3 separate regions of the Homo sapiens genome follow, and regions 2 and 3 are each linked to region 1. The links are contacts of gene promoters, found by promoter capture Hi-C in blood cells and fetal thymus (Javierre and others, 2016). All regions are on one chromosome and are shown on one strand. Each heading gives the region's core, a stretch centred on a gene start or on the middle of the fragment in contact. The rest is flanking DNA. Distances are from core to core; before and after follow the strand shown. Region 1 holds the start of TMEM30B (transmembrane protein 30B). Region 2 overlaps PRKCH (protein kinase C eta). Region 3 overlaps PRKCH (protein kinase C eta).

The links. The method cuts DNA at HindIII sites, captures the fragments that hold promoters and counts their contacts. A CHiCAGO score of 5 or more calls a contact.
Region 2: a contact is called between a fragment that was not itself captured here and the fragment with the promoter of TMEM30B in region 1, in 1 of 17 cell types (total CD8 T cells). The highest score is 5.4, in total CD8 T cells.
Region 3: a fragment that was not itself captured here is called in contact with the fragment with the promoter of TMEM30B in region 1 in 1 of 17 cell types (total CD8 T cells); the score reaches 5.1 in total CD8 T cells.

What each region holds. Positions count from the first base shown.
Region 1 is chr14:61,279,333-61,283,878 of GRCh38, forward strand. TMEM30B (transmembrane protein 30B) reads right to left here and starts at 2,006. Exons shown (of 1, transcript NM_001017970.3): 1 at 1-2,006. The coding sequence starts at 1,815. The coding sequence ends at 760. It also overlaps a transcript of PRKCH not described here. RefSeq lists an enhancer at 468-1,431. The HindIII fragment of the contact is 12,699 bases long and covers 1-4,546 here.
Region 2 is chr14:61,520,045-61,524,590 of GRCh38, forward strand. The region is part of intron 10 of PRKCH (protein kinase C eta); the gene reads left to right. Among named protein-coding and RNA genes, the nearest start is that of PRKCH-AS2, 23 kb to the right of the region's middle. The HindIII fragment of the contact is 1,920 bases long and covers 1,701-3,620 here.
Region 3 is chr14:61,429,377-61,433,922 of GRCh38, forward strand. The region is part of intron 2 of PRKCH (protein kinase C eta); the gene reads left to right. Among named protein-coding and RNA genes, the nearest start is that of PRKCH-AS1, 110 kb to the left of the region's middle. The HindIII fragment of the contact is 5,538 bases long and covers 1-4,546 here.

The DNA of each region.
Region 1 (4,546 bases), core at 756-3,255:
CAGACCAAACCTGGAACATCATGGTTGTCACTGCCCCTGGGAACAAATTACTATCCGAAAAAGTGAATTCAGTTGACTGCTTCAGGCCCAACCTGGTTCAGGGTCGTGATTCCCAAATTTGAGGGAATATGGGACTCTCCAGTGGAGTTTGTTAAAACACAGCTTCGAGGATCTCATCCCAGCCTTACTGTGTCTGAATCTCTGTTTGGTGTCTCCTAATCTACCTGCATATTTAACAAGCATGTTCTCCCTCACGCCTCCACGTCTCTGCAGGTAATTTGTGGGCCTCACTCTCCATTCCAGCCCACTCTCCCCGACCAAAGAAAAGAAAACCACTGTACTGTAGTGGCGAAAGCCCTGGACTCAAGATTCAGGAGTCACTTGCAGCTGCCTGATCTTTGTTACTTCACATTGCTAGGTCTCTCAATCTCTTCCTCTAATAGGGGTTTAATAGGAGTCTCCATAGGGATCCCTTCCACTCTCAGACTTGAAGAACCTCACATGGCAACTCAGTGTCGTGAAGGAGGTGGGAAGAGTTTGCAAGGATGTTTCACTCTGCAGTCAACATCCCTCCCCGCGGCAAGACAGTCTAGCAGCCCCCCAAGAGCAAGGGGGGTAATTCCCTTATCTGGTCCCCTCATTCACAAAGGGAGGAAAAGCTAGGCGAGGTTGGAATTGGGTGACGGGCGAGGAGGAGATGCCAAAAGCACCTTGCAAGAGTTTTGGCAAGAAGCAGGAGGGATCCCTGGAAAGCCGGAATCACTCCTCGTCGTCGTCGTCCTGGTCCTGGTAGCGAATGTAGACGACCAGCATGACAAAGCCGGTGAGGATGCAGAGGGAGCCGACGACCAGGTAGGCGATGCCCAGGAAGGGGTTCTTGCCACCCATCCACGAGATGCTGCTGAAGATGAGGAGCTTGTGGCCGCCGAACGCGCGCACCGGGTAGTTGTAGGTGATGTTGACGCGGTAGGCGCCCCGCGGCAGCCCGGCCGAGTAGTTGCCCTGGCGGATGCGCGCGTACAGTTTGCGGAACGTGGGCAGCGCCGCCGTGCGCATCCACACCACGAAGTCCTGATTGATGAAGCCGGTGTTGTTGGGGTCGGGGCTGAGCTCGTAGACTGGCCGGCGCCAGTTGGGCGGGGGCGCCGTGCCCTGGAAGGCCAACGCCAGGCTGCCGTTGACCAGCGGCGGGTTGCGGAACTTGACGTGGTAGTCGGTCCACCAGGCGATGCCGGAGCGGTCGAGCGGCACCTCGACGTAGGGCCCGCCGGGCTGGCGCTGGTGCCAAAGCGAGAAGGAGTCGTTGAAGAGGCTGTTGGCGATGGCGCCGCAGGGCGCGATGGGCAGGCCGGCCGCGCTGCGCTGGTAGGGGGCGCACTCGTTGACAGGGTGGCGCAGCGCGCTGGGGAGTCCGCTCAGCTGCGCGTCGTCGCGGGACACGCCGTAGCGCCGGTTGTTCTGGTAGAAGTTGGTCAGCTCGTAGTAGAGGTACACTGGGCCCTGGAAGAGCTCGGGCAGCGAGAAGTACCAGGCGCACGAGCAGGGGGGCGGCAGCGCCCGGCCCTGGCCAGCCGCGGCGCACACCGAGCAGTTACCGGTGCCCGGGTCGCCTGTATAGTCGTACTCCAGCTCCTTGATGCCGTTGGAGGAGTAGTAGAGGCCCAGGCCCAGGCCGATGAAGGCCAGGCCCGCGCAGAAGAAGAGCGGCAGCGCGATGCTGGCCGACAGCAGCGGCTGCCAGGCGGGGAGGCGCTGCTGAGTGAAGGCGGTGTTGTCGGGCTGGTGGGCGCCCCGGGCCGTGGCGCTCCAGGTCATGGCGGCCGCGCGGGGACCGACGCGCGGGCTGACCGAGTGGGGGCCCCGCCGCGGGGCGCCTCCCTCTCCGCGCCGCGCAAGCCCGGGGACTGCTCGCGGGTCGGGTTTCCCGCCAGCTCAGGTGGGTTTTTGCCCGGGCCCCTCCTCTGCCTCCGTCACAGGTGAGTTTAGTTCCAGGCCCTACGAGCAGTGCCCACACCCTCCCAGTTCCGCCTCCGCCCAGGTGCGCTGCACCCCCGCGGGTCACCGGGAGCCGCACCTCGCCCGCCCCTTCCGAGGTGAGCAGGTGGGTGTTTTTTACCTCACCTGGTAGACTCAGTCTCGCGTTTCCTCTCAGTCCAGGTCATCGGACTCCACCTCCTCTCCTAGGTGAGTGGCGGCCCCGGGCTGCCTCTGAGTGGCTCCTACCTGGCTCAGGTACCACCTTCTCTTCCGCCTTCCAAGTGACTAGAGTTCCTGGGCCAGTCTCCCGAAATCAAAAGGCGCTCCGGCCTCCAGCAGAAATTTTTGCTGAGGGCTTGCACCGTGGTCCTGGAGGCTTGAAGATTTCAGATCCTTAATCCTCTGTTATTTGCGGGGAAAAGGTGGCTCTAGACCATTTTGTCTTTTAGGTTAGCTTCACAAACCGCTTTCGCCCAGCTTTCAGTCTCAAGTTGGGAGTGTCCAGGGAATTACGTTATGATAAATCTGTTTCGAATTCAACGCCTGCGTTCAAATTTTAGCTTTTTTTTTTTTTTTTTTTTTTTTTTTTTTTAAGGGAAAATGATTTTCTGGCCAGATCACCCAGTCTGGCTGTATAACTAGGAAATGTGGAAAGTTCTCTAAAAATAAAATCATCCTTAAAAAGAATCAAAGGCTGGAGAGGTTCAGAGCCTTTAAATAACTCTTAGCTGGTGTGGAGAAACCAAGAAAGGAAAAAATGTGCTGGACTACATGTGATTTCGTTTTCTTTTCAGATTATTTGCCTGACTAGAGAAAGGCCCAATCCAAGGTCCCAGGAGACCTAGCTGCTATCCACAAAAACATCTGGAGTGTCTGGCCTAAGGAAGTAAACTACAAGGATTTATAGGATTTATTATAAAAAGAACTCAAATTAGCTCCCTATGTTGCCTGGGATTCTGGCTTTTTTTTTTTTTTTTTTAAATCTAGGTTGGTAAAACATATACAAGGGGGTATTGGGACGTTCTGATTTCTTACTAAATCTAAATCTTCCCTAGGTATTGTGTTCTTGCTTCTCCTCCAGCTTGTAAAATGCAAGTAATACAAATGTTTTCTCTATTACACTACACCTAGCATAATATATTATATTCAGGAGTCATTCAAAACCCATTGAACTTGGAAAGTTAAAATCCTTATTAAATTTAACAGAGGAATGTTGTTAGCATCTTCCAAGTGTTCAGTCCTATGCTAATTAGACAAAAAAGGACCTTTGACCTCAAGGCATTTGCAGTTTGATAGGGGACATATTAGGAGTAAGAAACAATCAAAATAGCCAATAATAGCTATGAATCATAGGGTGTAATCAAGTATCAAATTGCATTCTACAAGTCACATTAAAATTAAAAAGTAATATTGATTTAATAATGGAACATTGATTCCAGTTTGTTAAATGAATGCAAGTTGGAAACCAGGTATTATAGAAGACTGAGGGAAATTCAAGTGACTTGAATTTCAATTCCCTCACTTCTTATCATACCCAAAGAGAGGAAGTTCCAAAATTCTCAGCAAGTTCCCACAGTGTGATCCAGTCTCCAGTCACCCTTTTTTTCAATAAAAGAATAAATAGTTCTTTGTATCATTATGGTTGAGTTCCACCCACCCGTTTCATTGAATCACTAGTCCACAAAACTCGTCTCTAGGAAGGAATTCAGTTTTCACAACTTTTGTAGATTTTTTTTTTTTTGAGAGAGAGGTGTCTCCCTCAGTTGTCCAGGCTTGTCTCAAACTCTTGAGCCCAAGAGATCCTTCTGCCTCAGCCTCCCAAATTGTTGGGATTATAGGTGTGAGCCATCACACCAAGCCTATCTGGTAAATCTTAAGTCTTTTTTCTAGTAGATCACCACCACACCCCTAAAAGGGCAAGCCCCATTCTTGAGCTCAGAGCCTTTCCTCCTTTTCTCCTATTCCTGGATGGCCTAAAGGTACTAGTTTATTCATTCCACTAATTAAGGTGACAGATTTTCAAAGTCAAAAGAGAATATTTCAAGACAAGGAATGGTCAGCAGAGTTAAACACAGCTGAGGGTTCAAGTGAGATAAATGAAAAGGAATTATGGGGTTTGACTTTTGTGGGAACACTTTGGGTGGTTTGTGTGGCAGGAATGAGGTTACCATCAGGTGCAGGGAAAGGGAAGCAGATAGCAAGATAGGAAGACACTCTTTTTTTATTTTTATTTTTATTTTTTGGAGATGAGGTCTTGCTGGGCATGGTGGCTCATGCCTATAATTCAAGCACTTCGGGAGGCCAAGGCAGGAGGATCACTTGAGCCCAGCAGTTTGAGACTAGCCTGGGCAATATAACGAGATCTTGTTTCTACAAAAAATAAAAACAAATTATCTGGGTGTGGTGGCATGTGCCTGAGGTCCCAGCTACTCAAGAGGCTGAGGTGGGAGGATAGCTTTAACCAGGGAGTTATGATTGCGCCACTGTACTCCAGCCTGGACAACAGAACAAGACCCTGTCTCAAAAAATAAAAATAAAATAAAAAAAGAGAGAATGGGGTTCTAAAGGG
Region 2 (4,546 bases), core at 1,411-3,910, 240 kb after region 1:
GGAATTATGGCCTTAAATACTACAGAAACCAAAAAAAAAAAAAAAAGAAAGAAAGATTAAAGCTAGAATATGTAAACACATTTTAATGACTTTTTCCTGGTTAACAAAGTAATACATGATTCCTGTAGGAAATTTAGAAAATCCAAAACAGAAAATAAAAATCACCCATAAACATATCACCTGGAAATAGACTTTTATGTTTTTCCTCATCTCCTTTTTTCCTCCTGTCTTTCCTCCTTTTTCCTCCTGTCTTTCCTCCTTTTCTTTATCCCTCTCTGTCACAATTGTAACAAATTAAGAGAATATTGAAAATATAATTTTGTATCCTGTTCTTTCACTTAGAATTGTATGAGCCTATAAGTAAGTCATGAAACCCAGAAGCTGTGAAGGAAAGATTGATAACTGGACTATATCAAAACAAAACTTCAACCAGGCGATAATATTTACAACCCATAGAACCAATATAAAAAATTATTACTATCCCATAATATGAGCTTCTTAAAAAAATCAAAAAGATAAACAACTCAAGTTTTTAAATGGTTAAACCATGTGAATAGGCAAGAAAAAATTCAAATGGCCATTAAACATATATTCTTCTTAAAGCTTAATCTCATTAATAGTCAAGAAATGAAGTTGAAACAATGAGCTCATTTTTCACTGGCGGTTTGGCAAGAATTAGAAGGATGATTCCATCTAGCCTGAACAAGGAAGCCAAAACATTGACACTTTCATGTGCTACTGGTGGGAATATAAATTGATGCAACCCTTTTGGAAAACAGTTTCTCTACATCTGTTTAAATTTAAAATATTTATGCCCTTTGATATGGCATTTCTACTTCTAAAAAAATGTATCCTAAATAAACACTCCCACAAGTGTGCAAATCATGTTCATTACTCCATTGTTTGAAGTTGCAAAAAATTTAAAACAACCCAAATGTTTATGTAGAGGAACTGGTTAAATTGTGGTAGATTTTTACAGTGGAATTGTATGCAACCATTATAGAGAATGAGCCAGAGGCATAGGAGATATAAATATGTCCAAGACAATTGTTGAGAAAAGTATTTTACTGTATAATATTGTGTTAGTGTAGCATTGAGAAGAAAAGTTTGAAAGACTGAACCCATCATCATTTTCTCTATACCTTTTTCAGGAATGATCAATTTTATATAATGAAAATATTACTTTTATAATCAAAAAAACATTTTCAGATAACATTTAAAAATTCTATTATAAACATTTCCTTACATTTTTAGTCCTTCATAAAAATTTGGCAGCTTTCATAAGATTCTGTCATAGAAATACCATTATTTATTTAGCCATTCCACGGTTGATACATAATTTAGCTTTTTTTCAAATTATATATGATGCAGCAACCAATATCTTTGTAAAATAAGATTCTTAATTTTACACTCACAAGAGTATCATATCACATAGCAGAGATTGAGAATTTAACCTGAAAATAATCCATTGGGTGATTCTGAATGTACAAGATTGATGTTTTTCTAATCTTTTTATTTTATTTTATTAATTTTTTTTTTTTAAGATAGAGTTTCACTCTGTTGCCCAGGCTGGAGTGCAATGGTGTGATCATGGCTCACTGCAGCCTTGACCTCCCAGGCTCAAGTGATCTTCCCGCTTCGGCCTCCCAAAGGGCTGGGATTCAGGCGTAAGCCACTGTGCCCGGCCTTAATCTTTTTAAAGCTTACCTGGACTATAGGTGGCCCATATGGAGGCAAAAGATTTGGGCCCCACTCTCTAGGCACACAGCTCTGCTACCCTACTCTAAGTATAATTTGTCACTAGTTTTTGTAGTCTCAGTGTAAAAAAGAGCAGAGATCTTGGCCTCAGGAGATCCTCTTCCCAAGGCTCAGTCCCAGGCTCTCTCCTTATTTCATTCCTTCTCCTGAGGTGAACTCATCCACACCCAGGTAATGACTCTCAAATTTATAGCTCCGAACCAGCCTTCCCTTTGACATCTAGCCATGTGTATTCAGCTGCTTAAATATCTCCACCTGTATGTCTAAAAAAAGTAGCTCAATCTGTCCAAAATAAATTCTGTGATCCAGAACCTGCTGATGCCTCCTTCCCTTTATCCTTTACATCCTTCCATTGCTAAATCCCATTGCTTTCCCCCAGTAGTTCTTGACACATCTAGTTCTCTTTACCTTACCACCCTCCCTATACCAGGCCACCATCATTTATCTCCTGGATACTCTAGTAGCTTCCCAAATGATCTCCTCATGTTCATTCTCAACTCCTCTGATATGGAGTCCTGTAAAATCGAAAATCTAATGCCATCCCTCTCCTGAGTCAGAGTTTTCCATGGTTTATTGGGCTAAAGACTGAAATCCTCACTGGCCCCTGCCTCATCTGGTCCCTGCTCTCTCCTGTCTCCATGCTCTCTTCTCTCGCCACCCAGGACTCCAACCACACTAGTCTTCATTTCTTGACTGAACCCCCTCACCTCTGTTCCTTCCTTCTGAAATTCTCCTTACCCTCACTTTCCCTTCTTTCTGTCTCTTCACTTGGTTAATAATCTTCACAGCTCAGTTCAAATGTCACTTTCCTGGGAAATCTTCCCCCAGTGCTAGGTCAGGCCATCCCTTGATCTATTCCCATGTTTTCTCCTCATTGCACTCATCACAGTTGATAATTGTAAATTTAGTTGTGTGGTGATCTGTCTGCTTCTCCCACCAGACATTAACCCCCTTGTGGGTAGAGATGGTGCCCCCTTTGCTTACTATTGTATCCCAACATCCTGGCATATGGCCAGGCTCATGGACAATACTAAAGAATGGTTGGGTGGGTGAAGGGATGGATATCTCGTGTCAGGTGATGCATGAATGGCACTACTGTCTAACTCACGATGAAACCAAATGTTATGCTTTTGCTAATTCAGTGACTTTTCAAAAGTCTTTTGCCCATTTAATACAATCCATCTTGCTTTGAAAAAACTTTAAGTATAAACCCAGGCACTCAAAACACAAGCCAGTCCTAAGTAGTTTTATTCTAAAATTAAGACCATAACCCACATTCACTCACTTGGCAGATGCCCCCTTTTCACACTTACCTACATGCTAGTTCCTCCTCCTCAGTGGAAGGCAGCAAATGATCTGCACATTTGACCACTTGAGAGATTTGCTGTGCACTCCCCTATGCCTGTATCCTCAAGGACTCTGTAAAATCCATTGAACTCTATGCACAAGCTAAGAAAAAAACCTTGCTTTGCAGTATTTCGATTATGCATTTCATAGTAATATGCATAAAACATCCCTCTATCATAGTGCCATCTTAGAATATTTATTGATTCCCTCAGGTGGTTCTTGTTTCAATTAAAGTCCTTTTGGGAAACAATCTATCCGGGGGATTGGCCGGTGACACTGCTACATAGAAGGGATTGGGCCTGGTGTAGTAAGTCACAAGCCCAGGCCTTGGAGGTGAGCAGAAGTAAATCTGAATCCTGATTTTACCCCTGTCTAGCTATATAATCTTGGGGTAGAGCCTACTTCATAGAGTTATTTTGAGGATAAAATAAGAATATAGATAAAGCACTTAGCATTTGATGAACATTCAGTATATGTTAACCACTGAAGACACTGTTATTCTTGTTATTCACAAAAGCTTTTTTCCAGGTTTTCTAGACAGACCCACAGACTCACCACCCCCAAATGAGCAACAGACAAATGGCAGTATGCTGACAATCATAAATTGACTGTGTATTTTATGATAATGGGTATCAAAGTTGTACTCTATTAAAGAATTATTATCTTTGAGATTCAGATATTAAAATGTGTATAGATGAAATAGCTCATATCCTGGATTTGTTTCAAAATAATCTGATAAAAGATGGATCAGGGAGGGAGGGAGTCGATGTAGCGAGGGAGCATGTTTGGACGTGCATTGGCAGGTGCCGAGGCTGTGTGATCAGTATGGGAGTTGTGTCATTCTCCCTACTTTTGTCTGTTTTGAAATTTCCCATAATAAAAGTTGAAAAATATGTTAAAAATAGTTCATATAAATAGCCTCCTAGATTCATTCTTGTTCAAGGAGCCAGCTCTCAACTCGCTTTCCTTTATTTCTTTTGGAAGAGTAACTGACTCTAGTGATCTAAGCAGTAAGACTCATGTCAATCTGTTTTATTACTCTCAGGATAGCTTATGGTGGAAACAAAATAAATCCAATTTCTGAATCTCCTTTGTCTTCAATCACTTGGGAATTCTCTCTGAAACTACTGTGGGCATTTTAAGTAACCCTGATTACCCAGCAAGAACAATGTAGCTTTCAGACAAGCACAGAGGATAGAATAACTCTTTCTACCCTTCTATGCTTGCATGACAAAAGCTGTAGCTATTAAATACCGGTGCTCAATGAGCTAATGAATGGCAAGCCGGTAACTGTGGTTTTGGCATTTTAGTATTTGAGCCTCTGCCCTGTATGAACTTGTAATCTTCATTGTGTAGCCTTGTTAAGTTCAGCTGCTGAGTTACATGTTGGCATAGGAAGCTGAGGTACTCCTAAGCCAAAAACTGACCTCTGCATATTTCA
Region 3 (4,546 bases), core at 838-3,337, 150 kb after region 1:
TGAAGCAACATTTATAAATGCTTTACAGTTAGAGAGCATATGCTCTCGTCCACTGTTTTTTGTCTTTGTGATCAAAGAAGGATTTGAGGAATTTCTTTTAAAAATCAGTCTGTACAATAACTGAGTACATTACTTTCAGATAATGGAGAATAGTCACACCCATTGTTTTCAGGGCCTCAGGGAATCCTAGAATGTGTGTCTTGTGGACTGTGTCATAGTTGGCTAGTTACAGTGGCAGTTACTAAAATCAAATCTGTTTCAATTAATAAAGAACTTGACAATGAAACTAACAAGACCCATTCTAAAGACGCCAGGAAAATAAAATAAAAACCCATATGTACTAGGAATTGTAAATAGAGAGGAAGCAGAAACAATGTAATTTGAATTATCTTATTAAAATTTTAAAATATTAAAATTTAACTAGTTTCTCTTATTCAGCTAGAGACGGTATAAAAACTTGGCAGAAGTGTGATTTTTGTCTATCTGCTGGCCAGAATAATACTATATAGATGGGATTTTGTAGGTTTTAGTCTCTCTACCCCGCTGTCTTCCAATATGTATGCAGAAAAAGTAAACATGATCCCTAACCTTTCTGAAACCTTCTTTACCTTCAGTCTACACATACATAGTCTTGGGCAAAGAGTTATCAGGTAAATTCCATGGAATCAAGAGTAGAGGCATATGTTGCTTTTCTTAATAGGAAAAACAGTGACTGTGTCCCCCTAAATAAAGTCATGATTCAATGAAAAGACAAACAGCCCAATTTTAAAAAAATGAGCAAAAGATTTGAACAGACATTTTCTCAAAAGAAATATGAATGGGCAATACACACATAGAAACATGCTCAGCAATTTTAGGCTTTAGGGATATGCAAATTAAGACCACAATGAGATACCACTAGAAAGGCTAAAATGAAAAAGACCAACAACACTAAATGTTGGTGAGACTGTGGAGCACTAGAACTTTTCATATTTTTAGTGGGAGTTCAAAATGGTACAACCGCTTTGAAAAATGGTCTGGCAGTTTCTTACAGAACTAAACAGACCACTACCTTGTTACCCAGCAGTTCTTAGGTATTTACCCAAGACAAATGAAGCATATCTCTGTCAATAGAAAAGCAGATGCCAGCCATGGTATGATTTTGAACAGCCAGTGGAATAAAAGAATAGGGACTATATCTGACCTTGCTGTTAGAGTAGTTAGGCAGATATGAGCGGGGCAGGAGAGGCCCCCCTCCCCCACAGGAATGTCAGGCAACCATCAGGTGATGGTCAGGTGGTTGTTAAACTGTCTCACTAACATACTAGTTGGTCACAGCTTGCACCAGGGAAAGCAGACTCCCAGTAGATAGAAAACACCTTAAGCTCTTAATCAGCAGCTTCCTTTTTTTTTTTTTGAGATGGAGTCTTGCTCTGTTGCCCAGGCTAGAATGCGGTGTCGTGATCTCAGCTCACTGCAATCGCTGCCTCCCGGGTTCAAGCGATTCTCCTGCCTCAGCCTCCCGAGTAGCTGGGACTACAGGCACGTGCCACCACGCCTGGCTAATTTTTTATATTTTTAGTAGAGATGGGGTTTCGCCATGTTGGCCAGGATGGTCTGGATCTCCTGACCTCGCGATCCGCCCGCCTCGGCCTCCCAAAATGCTGGGATTACAGGCGTGAGCCGCGGCACCCGGCCAATCAGTAGCTTCCTCATAGGATCTCAGGCGTTGGATGAGTGGGCTCAAACTTGCATGCTAAGAGACAAAATGGTGGAGTTTAGCTGGTGTATGACCTTCCTCTAGGAACACTCAATTGGTAAGGGAAAAATGCCTCAAATGAACATGTGCACAGCTTCAGTAAACACACTGTACATGCGGCCCTTCCCAAGTGCTGGCAGGCCACTGCACATGCGGACAGCCCACCCCAAGGAAAAACCAAGGGAGGAGAGACACAAACCTCAGCACCATGCCATTGTGTAAAAATCCCAAGTCAAGCGTCGGACAGGGTCCTCGGATCTCTCAAATTGCCCACTTGGCCCTCTTCCACGTGTACTTTGCTTCCTTTCATTCCTGTTCTCAAACTTTTTAATATACTTTAACTCCTGCTCTAAAACTTGCCTTGGTCTCATTCTACCTTATCCTCTCTGGCCAAATTCTTTCCTCCAAGGAAGCAAGAATCGAGTTGCTGCAGACCCATATGGATTCGCTGCTGCTAATGTTGCCATTTGGATTTTTTTTTCTTTTTAGAGTGTTCTAGAATGCATGCTTAGAGAAGGGAATGTAATCCTAGGACACCACTCAGCTCTGCAACAGTATAGCTCTGCAGTAATGAGTAAATGCTGTTTGTTGGTTTACTTTAAAGCTCTGCTACTGAATATATACAAATATACTGTTATATTTTCCTGGTAAAACCTTTTATTATACAATCACTTCTTTTTATTTCTAGCAATTCTTTCTTTTACAGTGTATTTTATCTGACGTTAATGTGGCTGCATTGCATGTCTTTTGGCTAGTATTTGCCCTGCTTTGCATCTTCTTTAATTCATTTACTTTCTACTTTTTCTACCTATGTCTTAGGTTTGTGCTTTATAAACAACAGGTGGTTAGATTTCCTATTTCTAGAAGTTTATTGAGATTCTCCCTCTACCACTGTCTCTACCAATTCCATTTTTTCCCACCTCTATTGGTTTGGAAGATAGAATCTCTCTCTCTTTTTTTTTTTTTTTAAGTGATTATACTTGGAATTTTAACATGTCTGTGTAACTAAGTCTAAAGTTAGCTACCACTTTACCCTCCTACTGAGCAATCTAAGGATGTTAGAATGTTTTTAACTCCAGTCACTTTCCTCCTGGCTTATGTGCATTTCCTTGATATTTTTGATATCTTTTTATTTTTCTTTTGAAGCTCCATTAACTAGATGTTATTAGTTATTCCATCCTTCTTTGTTTCTATTTACTTACATGTTTATAATTTTTTAACATACCACTTTCTTGTATAGCTCAAACCTTCCCTCGAACATTTCCCTCCTTCTTCAAGTAGATTCTCTTCAAGTACATTCTTTATTTAGCGAAGGTATTTGGTAGTGAACAATCTCAGTTTTCTGAAATATCTTTATTTTGCCCTCATTCTGGAAAGCTAGTTTCTTACTTTATTTTTTTAATAGACAGAGGGTCTTGCTTTGTTGCCCAGGCTGGTCTTAAACTTCTGGCTTCAAGCAGTCCTCCTGCCTTGGCCTCTCAAAGTGCTGGGATTACAGGCACGAGCCACTGCGCCCAGCAGTAACGCTAGTTTCACTGGGATCATGGACTCTTAAGAGCTAGAAGGAACTTCACTGATTATTTGACTCAGCCTTTTCCATTTCCAGAAAAGCCTGCCACCAGGCACAGAAAGAATACATGACTTCCAGAGTCCCTCGCTATATTGTCCAGACTGGTTTTGTACTCCTGGCCTCAAGTGATCCTCCCACTTCAGCCTCCCAAAGTCCTGAGATAATAGGCGTGAGCCACCGTGATCCCCTTTACCTTTTTCTTTTTTTTTTTCCTTTATTTCTTCTTAATAAAAAAAAAGTGGGGGGGATACATGTGCAGAGCGTACAGGTTTGTTACATAAGTATACGTGTACCATGGTGGTTTGCTGCACCTATTGACCTGTCCTCTAAGTTCCCTCCCCTCACCCCCCAACCTCTTCAAAAAAAAAAAAAAAAAACTATCAAAAAATGGTGGCCGAGGTTCAAAGCTCTCACCTTGGTTTTGTGATAAAGGTGGTTAATCTTTGGTGTTGGATTTCAAATTAGTCTGTTTACAGTGAGCAACAGTACAGCAGTTTTAAAAATCATGTTGAATCAGAAACATGAAGAAGGCAGCAGAGCTTTCTCTCCACCATGCACTTGGAGAAGGAAATGACTCGGCAGCATACTCCTCATGGCTAATATCCTTTAAGATTTTTCCAAAATCATGAAACCAGAACTTGAGAGCTTAAAAGGGACTTTAGAAGTCTACCAGTGGATAAGAGAGAAAAAAAAATCAAAAGGGAAATGGAATAAGCCAAACTAAAGGGCAGGATTCTTTTAGTTCTCAGCAGGAAACATATGTTTATCTGGAAAAGATTTTGGTTGGACAGGTTGTTTGTGTAAGAATCTTTTTTGTGAGGAAGGAAGATCAACCTGGGCTTGAAGGCTGGGGTGGGGGTAGAGAGAACAGTCCCTGAGCTTCAAGTAAATGAGAAAAATACACAGATTTTAAACAGAGGAGCCCTGCTTTCACGGGGATCATATGATCGTGCTATCAGCTTACTTTTAAGTTGTGATAATGTATACATACTTTATGAAATATGATTAAATGGTAACTTTAGTATTAGTGGCTACAAGAACAGAAACAGCAACTTTTAAAAAGATATGAAAAGATGTTTTGGGTGAAAGTAGTTGGCTGCGCAACACATAGAGTATAACATACATCATTAATTTAAGACTGTAGATGTACAGTATATATTTGGCATGTACACCAGGATTTTCAGTGATTATTGATGTAATAAGATTTATGATTTTTAAAAAGAAACTCTTCATGATAG